Linked DNA regions of Homo sapiens: region 1 is linked to region 2. Evidence: promoter capture Hi-C in human tissues and cell types (Jung and others, 2019). All regions are on one chromosome and are shown on one strand. The core of a region is centred on a gene start or on the middle of the fragment in contact, and the rest is flanking DNA. Distances in the headings are between cores, read along the strand shown.

Region 1 (7,151 bases), core at 4,652-7,151, 330 kb after region 2:
AGCCTCCCAAAGTGCTGGGATTACAGGCATGAGCCACCGTGCCTGGCCAACTTTTTATTTTAAAATTACTATAACTATAAATCACAGGAATTTACAAAAAAGTACACAGGGAGGTCCCAAGTACCCTCGCCCAAATTCCTCCAATCCTGAGTTTATTCAGGTTTCACCAGTTTTGTATGCAAATGGGACTTGAGTACGCTAGGATTTATATGCAGTATGTGTGTGTGTGGTTGTATGAAGTTTTTATCACGTTTGCAGCTTTGTATAATCACACCTGAGACACAGAACTGTTCCATCCCTACACAGCTCCCTCATGCTACCACTTTATAACCACACCACCCCTCACCTCCCATTCCTAACTCCTAGCAACCACTAAATCTGTTCTCCATCTCTGCAGGTTTGTTATTTCAATAATGTTACATAAATGCAATCATACAGTATATAACCTTCTAGGGTTCTCACTTGTTTTCACTCAGTATAACTCTCTTGAGATAACCTGGCAGTACAAATCAGTTGTCTCTAATATATTAAAATTTAGCATGAGATGCATTTGACTGTGTTTAAACATTTATAATATTTTAAAGTTAAAACATTAAAATGTGAATCAAAGGTGTATGAAATCCCTGTTTCATTGACAGAGAACAGGGATTCTGAGATACAAATTTTGAAAACTGGGAATCTAATACAAGCCTAGTACAATGTAGTACAGGTTGAGTATTCCTTATCTGAAACAGCTTTGGAGCTGAAATACTTTGGATTTGGGATTTTTTCAGATTTGGGAATATGTGCATTATATACCGGGTTGAGCATCCCAAATCTGAAAGTCCAAAATCTGAAATGGTTCAAAATCCAAAACTTTGAGTGCCAATATGACACTCAACGGAAATGCTCACAGGGGCATTTCAGATTTTGGATTTTTGGATTAGGGATCCTCAACCAGTACAACAACTTTATAGAAGAAAAGCCCAAGACTCAGTGCTATGTCTTATCAGTGTTTACAAGAGTACATGGTTTACAAGAACGCCTGGTTTTGCACTTGTTATGGGCAAGATCTAGATTCTGGTTCTTTCCCAACCCAGTTGAGTATGTTACATTCAAATATGACCACTTGCTATTCTTCTCAAATGACCACAGTTTGCTACCCCTTCAAGTTCTTCCTAATGATTGAGGAAATGAACTCCTCTTAAATTCCCAGATCTGTGTGGCGCTTTAGCTAGCACCACACCTCAGGTCCAATTCTCCTGTCTTTATATGCAGCAGGTCCACAGGACAAGGCCTCCCTCAGAAAAAGCTACCCCAATCTAGGACAAAAACAAACTCTTTTCCCTCCCCCTCCCTCCATGTGCCCAGAACCCCTTTCTCCTTCCTCCCTAGGCTAACCTGCTAAGTCTTCCGGATAGCTCACTACACTATCTGATAGCTAACTGGGTGTGACAAACCACGTCCTCACACCTTAGAAGGCAAAACACTCCAGGAACTTACTTCTGGAATACCAATACCTTCACAGTAATTTCCCTGCCTTTCCAAAGAGTGCTCTAAACAGGTAAAAGCTATAATACAAACTCTATATATTTTTGTCACAGATACAGAAACTGGCACCATCGTTTGCATATTTTAAAAATCTGGTTGATATGGTTATCACTCTATCAATATTAGATCTAAATGGAATTTAAAGTAGTGGTAAAAGGCTGGGCGTGGTGGCTCACACCTGTAATCTCAGCACTTTGGGAGGCCAAGTGGGAAGACTGCTTGAGGCCAGGAGTTTGAGACCAACTCAGGCAACAAAGTGAGACCTGGTCACTATGAAAAATAGAAAAAATTAGCTAGGCATGGTGGGGTGCGCAACTGTAGACCCAGCTACTCAGGAAGCTGAGGTGGGAGGATCACTTGACCTAGGGAGGTTGAGGCTGCAGTGAGCCATGATTGCACCACTGCACTCAGCCTGGGGAGACAGAGTGAGACAATGTCTCAAAAAATTAAAGAGGAAGGAAGGAAAAGAAAGAGAGAAAAGAAAGGAAAGGAAAGGAAAGGAAGAAGGAGGGTGGGAGGGAAAGGAAGAAAGGAAGACGAAAGAGTAGTGGTAAAGAGCTTGGACTCTTGAGCCAGACTGCGTGGGTTAGAATTAGGCCTCTGCCACTGTACTACCTGGATCAAATGTTAGTCTGAGTGGCTCAGTTTTCCCATCTGTAAAATGGTGATAAAAGCTACCTGCCTCATGGGACTCTTGAGAGACTTCAATAATGTATGCAAAACATTTAGAACACTGCCTAGCACATAGTGAGCATTATCTGTAAGTATTAACATTTATCTCTACTACAGTCCAGATTCACTTCCTTGTGATATTTCTCTATTCCTCTTGGACTCTTTTCAGTTCAACCTGCTTCTGAAATTTCCATACCAAGAAACAATGATAATGTTAAGAATTTTATTTCTGAAATTTATCTTGGTTAGTCAAAACTACTAGAACAAATTCTCTTTTACGTACTAGCAGTTATTAACATTTCACTAAATATGAACATAAGCATTTAAAGTATGGGAGCAATGGAACAAATGCCAAGCAAAAAGCAGGCTATCAATAAGGACGCATACACGATACACCCATGTTAAAAAAAGGGAATCATATGGTCACATGGATGTTTGTCTATGTGTCAAACGGCTCTGAAAAGTTTCACAGCGGTCTACTGAGAGGGAGAACTGTCTGTTTGGTGGAAGGGATATGAAGGAGACTTTTCACTGTACATGCTTTGTTATCTTTCAAATCCGAAGCAGCGAATGCATTACCTAGACAAGAATTTAATTTTTTTTTTTTTTGAGACAGAGTCTCACTCTGTCACCTAGGCCGGAGTGCAGTGGCACGATCTCGGCTCACCGCAACCTCCACCTCCTGGGTTCAAGTGATTCTCCTGCCTCAGCCTCTCAAGTAGCTGGGACTACAGGCATGCGCCACCATGTCTGGCTAATTTTTTTTTGTATTTTTAGTAGAGACGGGGTTTCACCATGTTAGCCAGGATGGTCTTGATCTCCCGACCTCATGATCCGCCCACCTCGGCCTCCCAAAGTGCTGAGATTACAGGCGTGAGCCACTGTGTCCGGCCAAGAATTTAATTTTTAAAATGGGGGTGCAAAGGGGACTTTAAATAAGTACTCTGGAAGCCAGGTGTCAAGTCTCAATTTGCTACTACCTGTGCTACCTTGGGCAAGTCACTTAACCTCTGAGTCTCAGACAAAGCAAGGAGCAGTAAATAGTTCTAGGTTCTTTTTTTTTTTTTTTTTAAAGACAGAGTTTCCCTCTTGTTGCCCAGGCAGGAGGGCAGTGGCACAATCTCGGCTTACTGCTACCTCCACCTCCCGGGTTCCAGCAATTCTCCTGCCTCAGCCTCCCGAGTAGCTGGAATTACAGGTGCCCACCACCACGCCCGGCTAATTTTTTGTATTTTTAGTAGACAGGGGGTTTCACCATATTGGCCAGGCTGGTCCTGAACTCCTGAACTCAGGTGATCCACCCACCTCAGCCTCCCAAAGTGCTGGGATTACAGGCGTGAACCACTATGCCCAGCCCTAGGTTCTATTCTAATTCTAAAAGTTTTATTATCTCAATGGGATAGTAAATAGATGGTACTTTTAAGATACGGGAGAGGTAGTAATCCAACATTTTGTAAAATAAGGCAACTTTTTTATGGACTTGATTTTCAAATGCAGTGGACCCTTGAACAACACGGGTTTAAGCTGCGTGAGCTCACTTATATGTGGATCTTTTTCAACCAAATGCAGACCGAAACCGGCATATATGGAGGCCCAAATTTTCACATTCAGGTTCTGCAGGGCCCACAGTGTGGACTTGGGTATGCCAGGATTTCAGTAAAAACAGGGGTCCTGGAACCAATCCCCTATGGTATATGTTCTTTACATATACCATAGGACAACTGGACTATTTTTACAGTTTTAAGAAACGTAGATTTGTCAAGCCTATTAACCTTTCCAGATCATTTGTACTATTCTTACATAGAAACCCTTCTTAGAGGGGGTCTTATATATAGAAAATACCTACATAGAATATTCTGCATATTACAGCCGGACGCGGTGGCTGATGCCTATAATCTCAGCACTTTCGGAGGCTGAGGCAGGCAGATCACCTGAGGTCAGGAGTTCAAGACCAGCCTGGCCAACATGGCAAGACCCTGTCTCTACTAAAAATACAAAAATTAGCCGGGCATGGTGGTGGGCGCCTGTAATCCCAGCTACTTGGGAGGCTGAGGTAGGAGAATCACTTGAACCCGGAAGGTGGAGGTTGCAGTGAGCTGAGATCATGCCACTGCACTCCAGTCCTGGTGACAGAGCAGCGAGACTCCATATCTAAAAAGAAAAAAAAAAAAGAATATTCTGCATATTAGTTTCTCTTGCACAACTTCAAAATTGTTTTAAATGAACACATCTTTATACTATGCTATGAAGTCAGCAATAAACTACATTAAAACAATTAATGTTTAAAGATATAAACAAGTATGTACAAGAAACTTAACTTAAAGGCATTTATTATCAAACACTGGAAAAAAAAGAACATCTCCAATCAATGGTAACAGCTATAACTGAGGACAGGCTTTATTTCAGGAACATACATGTATCACTTTTCATCATAACACTAATCTGGCAAAGTAGGTTTTTTTGTTTTTCTTTTTTTGAGACAGGGTCTCTCTCTACCACCCAGGCTGGAGTGCAGTGGCACCATCATGGCTCACTGCAGACCTCTGCCTCTCAGGCTCAAGTGATCCTCACACCTCAGCCTCCCAAGAAGCTGGAAATACAGGCATGCGCCACCATGCCCGGTTAACGTTTGTATTTTTTGTAAAGACACGGTTTTGCCCTGTTGCCCAGGCTGGTCTGAAACTCCTGAGCTCAAGAGGTCTGCCAGGTGTCAGCGTCCCAAAGTGCTGGGATTACAGGTGTGAGCCACTGCACCAGGCCCTAAGTAGGTGTTAAAAGCCCTATTTAACATAAGAAACTGAGGCACCATGAAGATAAGGCCACAAGCCTAAGAACTGGGAGAGGTGGTAGCCCACCCAGATCCCTTAGATTTGAGCTCAGTGTACCAAACCAAGGGGCAGGGACTGCTAACTGAATGTTAGCTGGCAGGCTGGTGCAGGTTTGCAGCAGAGTTTTCACCGATTTATGGGAAAATGGGAAAAAGTAAGGACACGAAAGTAAACTTTTTTTTTTTTTTTGAGACAGTCTCGTTCTGTCACACAGGCTGGAGTGCAATGGCGCGATCTCGGCTTACTGCAACCTCCACATCCCAGGTTCAAGTGATTCTCCTGCCTCAGCCTCCCGAGTAGCTGGGATTACAGGTGCATGCTACCATGCCCAGCTCGTTTTGTGTTTTTAGTAGAGACGGGGTTTCAGCATGTTGGCCAGGCTGGTCGGAAAGTAAACTTTTCCATATAGCTAAATGATTCCATTTAAAAATCTTCTATTCTGAGAGATTCTGTTCTTTCAAATTGTTTGAATGGAAATATCCTTTTGTTAAATGAAACGATGATGACAGGAGATAGTGGTGTGTTATTGTTTTTATTGGCTGTACCTGGTAGAATTGAAAAATCAGCATTTCTATTGTAGCCTACTAATTTCAGTGAAATATTTCTTTAGAAATATAAAATCTGGAACTTTCCATCATTATGCCTCCCCAAAATAATAGAGGACTTTACACACAGATAACACCTGCCTCTCAAGATTCTCTCATTAATCTCTACCTTATTGTGTTTGGATTAAGACACTTAGGGCTTGTGAAATGAGAATAAAGTGAGTTTGAGCAATCCAAAACCACGTGCTGACTCTGGATCCTGGAAGATGACTTTCTTCAGAATCTTTATCTGTTAACTTTCCTCTGGACTTAAACTTTGTTTTCCTAAAAGAGTTACATATTTGAGTACTACTGCTACACGGCAATCACTACTCAAAAGAAACTAACTTGAGGTGTCCAATAATCAGCTTTCATTTAAAGTCTCTTTCAGGCTAGGCGCGGTGGCTCACGTCTGTAATCCCAGCACTTTGGGATGCCGAGGAGGGCGGATCACGAGGTCAGGAGATTGAGACCATCCTGGCTAACATGGTGAAACCCCGTCTCTACCAAAAATAGAAAAAATTAGCCGGGCATTGTGGCGGGCGCCTGTAGTCCCAGCTACTCAGGAGGCTGAGGCAGGAGAATGGAGTGAACCCGGGAGGTGGAGGTTGCAGTGAGTCGAGATCGCGCCACTGCACTCCAGCCTGGGCGACAGAGCAAGACTCTGTCTCAAAAAAAAAAAAAGAAAAGTATCCTTCAGCTTGACAAAATAAAAACTTTCAATGATGTTTTGTCTACGCACTTCCAAAAGAAAATGAGTCTATATATGTACATATATGTGATTATATATATATATATACATATGTGATTTTGATCAGCCTGCTTATAAACTACCTGCAAAACAAGTTGATTTGTAAATTCATTTATTAAATGAGTAGTTTATAAGCTACTTGATTTTTGCAAGTAGTTTATAAACAGGCTGATCAAATTGAACAAATTTCTTAATTTCACTGTATACATGGCAAATAAGTTATCTACTCTTCTTATTAGCAAATCTTATTTTTACCTACCCTCCTTTGGCAAGCATCTAAGTTAAACTATTTTACGTCCACAGCTACACAATGAAACATCACTTTCAGTCACAACATATTAAATTCACATTTAAAACTATAAAGAGATCCAGTTACCTTTAGTCTTACATGTACTTATACATATTTTTAATATACTACTTGATGTTTTATGCACAAACACGCAGCTCTAGCAGGATATAACTATGAGAATATTTAGAGTGTATGCTAAATACACCTTTTTAAAGAAAAGTCAATTTTTTAAATTATTTTTATTTATTTATTTATTTATTTATTTGAGATGGAGTCTCATTCTGTTGCCCAGGCTGGGGTGCCATGGTGTGGTCTTGGCTCACTGCAACCTCTGCCTCCCAGGTTCAAGCAATTCTCCTGCCTCAGCCTCCCAAGTAGCTGGGACTATAGGCACATGCCACCACACCCAGCTAATTTTTGTATTTTTGGTAGAGACAGGGTTTCACCATGCTGGTCAGGATGGTCTTGAACTCCTGACCTCATGATCCACCCACCTC
Region 2 (6,799 bases), core at 1,206-3,705:
CAAGCCCTAATAAAATGAAAGTCAAAATAAGTAAAAAAAAATATTTTCAAGGTGACAAACCCAGGAAGTAGCAGTGCTGATCAGAAAACAGATTTGTCAGCAGGCGTGGTGCCTCACGCCTGTAATCCTAGCACTTTGGGAGGCCAAGGCAGGTGGACTGCCTGAGCTCAGGAGTTTGAGACCAGCCTGGGCAACAGAGTGAAACCCAGTCTCTACTAAAATACAAAACACTAGTCGGGTGTGGTTGTGCGTGCCTGTAATTCCAGCTACTCGGGAGGCTGAGGCAGCAGAATCTCTTGAACCCAGAAGGCAGAGGTTGCAGTGAGCCGAGACCACGCCACTGCACTCCAGCCTGGGCAATAGAGGGAGACTCAATAACCACCCTCTCAGAAGACACTATACCCCAGGTGTATTTTACTTTGCAAGTTCTTGTACCATCTCACTGGGATCAGGTTGTTTTTGTTTGTTTGTTTGAGACGGAGTCTCGAGGCTGGAGTGCAGTGGCATGATCTTGGCTCACTGCAATCTCCCTCTCCCGGGTTCAAGCGATTCCCCTGCCTCAGCCTCCCGAGTAGCTGGGATTACAGGCATGCACCACCATGCCTGGCTAATTTTTTGTATTTTAGTAGAAACCGGCTTTCACCATATTGGCCAGGATGGTCTCGATCTCCAGGTCAGGTTTTGTTGTATCTTTTGGAATACTTTTTTTTTTTCCACAAATCTTAGAGAATCCTGGGGACAGAAATAATTTTGGTGTTTTCCTCCCAGTACCAGCATCTGATTGGCTGACCAGCAATGTTTCTCCAAGAAATGAAAGCTGGGTTGAGTGAAGACAATCTTAATATCTCAAGGGGTAAGCTTTTCAAAGGAAGAGTAGCCCAGGAGATGCTTCTCAGCCCCAGGGCATCCACCTGCTCCCTTGAGAAGCTACATTCCATACTTCAGGTTATTCTACGAGAGAAAATGACCCAGGAGCTGATATTTACTAGACACTCTAGCGACATTGCCATGGTAGGTATCTTGCCCCAGACAGTACTAAAACCCAGGACCAGAAAAAGAACTGAAGGGTGGCTGAGAACACATCACCCCATAAAGTTTCCAAAGGGAAAGCAACCATGACCCAAAAACATTCTGATAAGATCTCTGTGCCTAAGGAAGATAAAAAGAAAAGAGGCACAGAGATTTACAATACAATGTTAGGGGATTATTCTTTGCTTTCTTCTCATAGGAAATATTTACAAACAGGAAACAAATCTTTTAAAACGTGCCATCCAATGCTTTGCCAAAAATGATTAATTAAAATATGCCATCGAAAATGTACACTAAAGGAAACACACTTGCTAATGCGAATTAGGGAGGGTAAGTTGGCATTTGGGAATGTCAGAAGGAACTGGAAATTTAGTATTTTACTGCAAGCCAGAATTAAGCTGGAGGAATGAGGGATGGGGGGTAGACTTGAGACCCTGCTTGGGACACATGTGAAAACTGCAGGGGAAAATCAGTCCCCTGTGGATGTGAAAATAATTAAGTGGCAGGCAATTAGATTGAGGTGGCTCTAGTCCCTGGGTTCCTACTTTAAAAAAAATATAATTCAAATGCATTTTTGGCGGGGGGAGGGGAGGGTAAATAACACCGAGGGAACAAAATTCAGGCTTAACCAACTATAAACTGACAATCTCTGATTACATGACCAGGAAATTTCTACCTTAATCATACAAATTAAAAAACGACGTAACTGTACCTAACCAATTATTAAACTTGTTTTTTTTCATTATGCATCTTATAAAAGTGTTTCCTTCAAGCCCCTCCCACGGACCACAAACTACAAATCATAGCTGGGTGCTCTAAAATTCCTGAATCGCTCTTTGATTAAATTCTTCAATATTTTTACCTTGACTCCCATAAATTTTTAATAGGAAAAAAGAGGACCTGAGAACCACACGGACCAAAGCTCTTCCCATTCATAAACCCCGCACCCCGAGTCAGGATTCTTCTCTTTACTATTCTCCCGTCGTCCCTGCACACTCGGCGAGAGATGCGACGCTGCGGGTGCAGAGCTGCCCAGGGAGGGCTCCAGGCCAAAGCACAGTCACTGCGCAGGGAGGAGACAGGACGCCCGGGGTCCCGGCTGTCAGCCCAGCCGCCATCTTATGGCTGAAGGAGACTGAGGGCCGAGCTGCGCCAAGGAGAACTCGGGCCGCGGATCTCGGAGCCGACTGCGGGAAGGCCCGAGGCCCGCCACAGCCACTTCCAATCGGTTCCAGCCAGACCCTCCCCCTCTCTCGGGATGTGGGACCCAGCAGGCTCACCATTTCTAGGCTTCCAGGGGGTCCTGGCGTCTTAGCTGTGAACCTCCAAGTTCTTGCAGGTAACAGGGTCACAGCGGCGAGCCTTTATCAGCACAGGACGCAGAGCAGTGAAGACTAGACGTGGAGCGCCGGCTGCAGCGAGAGACAAAGGCCCCGCCAAATCCCGGAAGCTGTGCTGTCCGCTCCAGTTGCGTGCCTGATTGGATGGTTCCCAGCCCAGCGTTCCTGATTGGATAACGTTTAAGGCCCCGCCCCTTCGGGCCCTGAGTGACGGGAGATGTGATCAGATGCTGGACTGAAGGAAGAGTGACAGCCTAAGCTGCAGCCTTTTCAGACGGGGCTTCCTCCCTGAGCTGAGTCAGGCCCACCCCAGACAGTATTTGCATTTAACCTTGTGAATAAGGCCATATGCATTTATAAATAGTATATTATATGTCTATTCACAAATGCAAAGAATATAATACCAATTATTCAAAATTTTCAGATTTTATGACCTTCCTGGCTTCTGGTTTTGTTGTTTTGTTTTGTTTTTGGTTTTTGTTTTTTGAGACAGAGTCTAGCTCTGTCGCCAGGCTGGAGTGCAGTGGCACGAGCTCAACTCGCTGCAACCTCCGCCTCCCAGGTTCAAGCGATTCTCCTGTCTCAGCCTCCCGAGGAACTGGGACTACAGGCGCACGCCACCACACCCAGCTAATTTTTGTATTTTTAGTAGAGACGGGGTTTCACCATGTTGGCCAGGATGGTCTTGATCTCTTGATCTTGTGATCCGCCCGCCTCGGTCTCCCAAAGTGCTGGGATTACAGGTGTGAGCCACAGAGCCCGGCCAACTTCTGTTTTTTTAAGCAGGCAGCCTGAAATTTTAAAAAGAAGGCAATCCTCTAAAATAAAATGTGGGCGACACGTGAATTGTACATTTTTTAGCAGCCAAACTTTAAAAAGAAACAAGAAACAGGTGAAATTGATTGTAACAATTTAACCCAATATATCTAAAACCTTATTCTAATATGTGAGTGATATGTAATTATTAATAAAGTATATATATTTATTTGGAACTGAATCTTTGAAATTAACTCTATTTTACCTTTCTAGCACATTGCAATTCAGACCAGCCACATTCCAGGCAGCCAGTAGCTACACATGGCCAATAGCTGCCACATTGAAATGCAGCCCTGACATCAGGAGGGTGAAGGGTCTGAACACCCCTTTTCTGCCAGAAGTGAGGGGACAGCCTCTCTTTACCAACATCTTTCTACAGTTTTGAGGGTGGAACAAGATAGTCACCATAGAAAGAGCAGAGGGCAGCAAGAATAAAATAACCACAGGTACACCACTGCTGGCCACCTGTTGCCCACCTTTCTTCCAGAGATCAGACAGTAACCAAAAGATGATGGGGCCACAGGAGATTAAACGCTATGTCTTCAGATCTCTCCACAGTCATCACTTCCAGTGTTTAAGTATAGAGAAAACAGATTAAAGGTAAACTTATTTTGCTATTTGGCCTGGCCCTAGTGGCCAGAGTGTGTTTATCTGTTTTCTCCTGTGGCGTGGGGATTGTGTGAGTACAAGTACCAATCCCATGCAAACATGCCTACATATTTTTCTGCATTACTCAATATTATCTTACAAAACATCCAACTTTAGAGCAGAAAAAAAAATCAGCACTTTTAGGGTGCCAACTGTTGGAAGGTAACTATAACAACCAGTAATCAACCTGTCATTAAATCCTGGCATCCTATCTGCACTGTGTGCACGTATTAGTTAGGTATTGCAGCATAACAAACCAACCAAGGCTTTTTTTTTTTTTTAAATACAGAGTTTCGCTCTTGTTGCCCAAACTAGAGTGCAATGGCACGATCTCAGCTCACCGCAACCTCCGCCTCCTGGGTTCAAGTGATTCTCCTGCCTCAGCCTCCTGAGTAGCTGAGATTACAGGTATGCGCCACCACGCCTGGCTAATTTTGTATTTTTAGTAGAGATGGGGTTTCTCCTTGTTGGTCAGGCTGGTCTCAAACTGCTGACCTCAGGTAATCCGCCCACCCCGGCCTCCCAAAGTGCTGGGATTACAGGCGTGAGCCACTGCGCCCAACCCAGCTAAGGCTTCTTAGCTCACAATTGAGATGGTCAGTCATTTAAGCTGGGCTCAGTGGAGCAATTCTTCTGATCTCAGCTGAGCTCCTTCAGACATGTGTTATCAGCTGCTTGTTAACTAGGCAGCTGTGCTTCTGGATGTGCGCTTCTGGAGCTGTCAACAGGGACACCTTGCTTCTCCTCCCCATGGTATGTCATCCTCCAGCTGCCTAGCATGGGCTTTTTTTCACAGAGATGGCAGCATTGTGAAAGAAAAACAGAAGCATTCAAGACTGCTAAGCCCCAAACTGGCACGCTATCATGGTCACATGTTTTTACTGCCTTGAGCAAACAAGGCCAGCCAGATCTAGGTTTCGGAAAACAGATTCTGGATCTCAATGGGAACAGCTGTAAAAATCCCTGGCAACGGGCGTGGACATAGAAGGGATAAAAAATTGCTACCATTTTTGCAATCAGTATCATTCTACCTTTTTTTGCATATGTGGTTTATAGAACTCTTGTACATCAGGAAACTTGTCCAAAGACCCACATCTACTAAGTGGCTGGGCTGAGATTCAGGATCAACTCTGTCTGACCCCAAAGCCAATGCACCTCCATAAATAACACTACCAAAGTAACTGCCTTAGACCCTTGAAATCCTGGCGAGTGACCCTTCTAGAATAGATGCCAGATTCTTTCAAATTTATGCCCATATAGTACTGTTTAATTATTGCTAATACTCTCAAGAACTGCAGATGCACACGGTGGCTCACGTCTGTAATTTTGGCAGTTTGGGAGGCTGAGATGGGAGAATCACTTGAGCTCAGGAGTTCAAGTGCAGCCTGGGCAACATAGTAAGATCCTGTCTTCATGAAAAAAGTTAAAAAAATTAGCCAGGCATAATGGCATAATGGTGCATGCCTGTAGTCCCAGCTACTCGGGGAGCTGGAGCAGGAGGATTGCTTGAGCACGGAAGGTCAAGGCTGCAGTCAGCCATAAGTGGTTACACCACTGCACTCTAGTCTGGGTGATACAGTGAGACCCTATCTCGAAAATTTTTTTAAAAAAAGAAATTGCAGAAGCATTTTGAAAGAACGTAGAATAATCTGGGAAAATCGCTGAGGGATGAGTTTAGAAAATCAAAGCCCAACACATTATTTTTTATTGTAAAAAATTTGAAAACTTAAAAACAACCAACTTTAGAGATATTAAATTTATCAGAGTTTAATTGAGCAAAAAATAATTTGCAAATCAGGTAGCCTGTGGATCCAGAGTAGGCTCAGAGAGACTTCAGCACAGCCACCTGGTAGAAAAAGATTTATGGACAAAAAAAGCAAAGTGACACACAGAAAATGAAAGTGAGGTACTGAAACAGCCGGATTGATTACAGCTTGGGATTTGCCTTATTTGAACATTGTTTGAACAGTTAACTTTTTTATTGGCAAAAACACAGTGGTTGGTACAAGAATGTGTTACAGTCTACTTACATATCTAGTTAGGTTTCAGTTTACTATCTTGAAAAATACCTATTGACCAAACTTATACAGGAAAGGGGGCAGGTTTAGGCTATAATTAATTTAACAATTTTTCCCTTTTGGTTACCTTCTCAATTTTCAGATGTAGACCAAAACTTTAGACACTGATATCAGTCTGTCACCATTAAAAATGTACTTATTTAGTTTCAAATCCCACTGTGAAGTAACAGAACTGTGGGTTTCGTAAAGTGGAAATAAAGCCTTCAGGTTATTTTTTTAAAGGCTTACAGTAAGAGGACCTCCTTGTGTTGAAATCTACTGTTTACACATGAAAAACAAAACCTGGCCTATAGATCTTAAGGATCTACCTCTTTCCTTAAATTTTCAGTTTATGTGACATTTAGCATGAGTGACTCCATTTTGGTTTGGTTTGGTCTGTTTGGGCCTAGTGCACAAGCTCAGTCAGGAATAGTGGCCTCCGATAATTTTGTTTTAAAAATTCCCTCCATTTGGTTAAGTTCTCATGTGGGTCAGATTTTGACCAAAACTCAGGGCCTTCGTGCCACTTAGTTTCCATTGTTTTGGGTTTTTGTCCTTATCTATTATGTTATTCATAGGTCATGGTGTCCTCATGGTCACATATGTCTTTAAGTTTTTGTCATTCCAGTTAATGAGAAACCATTTGACATTCTGGAGATGACTGCATGCAAACATTTATAACTTTTGAGAGAATACAGTGCAGTAGGGAGACTACTATTTTGACATCAGGAGGGTAATACCAAGAGATTGAAGTACGCTTTTTAGCCAGGGTCCCCATGAACAAACCAACTACAATTAAATAAATCAAATAATTAGCTAGATAAATGATCTATTCATTTCAACCAAGCATCCTGTTCATTAATCTCCTGTAACTGAATCTCTGTAATATCCAATGTATTTCTCTAGTGC

Evidence for each region. Contacts are between HindIII fragments. The study calls those that stand out against the background at their distance.
Region 1: a contact is called between a fragment that was not itself captured here and the fragment with the promoter of ZNF92 in region 2, in 1 of the 25 tissues and cell types used here (hippocampus).

The regions. Positions count from the first base shown.
Region 1 is chr7:65,040,782-65,047,932 of GRCh38, reverse strand. It overlaps the pseudogene CCT6P3. Among named protein-coding and RNA genes, the nearest start is that of SNORA22C, 22 kb to the left of the region's middle. RefSeq lists a silencer at 895-1,095 and an enhancer at 4,724-5,236. The HindIII fragment of the contact is 9,741 bases long and covers 1,031-7,151 here.
Region 2 is chr7:65,369,511-65,376,309 of GRCh38, reverse strand. ZNF92 (zinc finger protein 92) reads right to left here and starts at 2,455. Exons shown (of 4, transcript NM_152626.4): 1 at 2,310-2,455. The coding sequence starts at 2,312. RefSeq lists an enhancer at 2,025-2,424 and a silencer at 2,320-2,590. The HindIII fragment of the contact is 8,860 bases long and covers 1-6,799 here.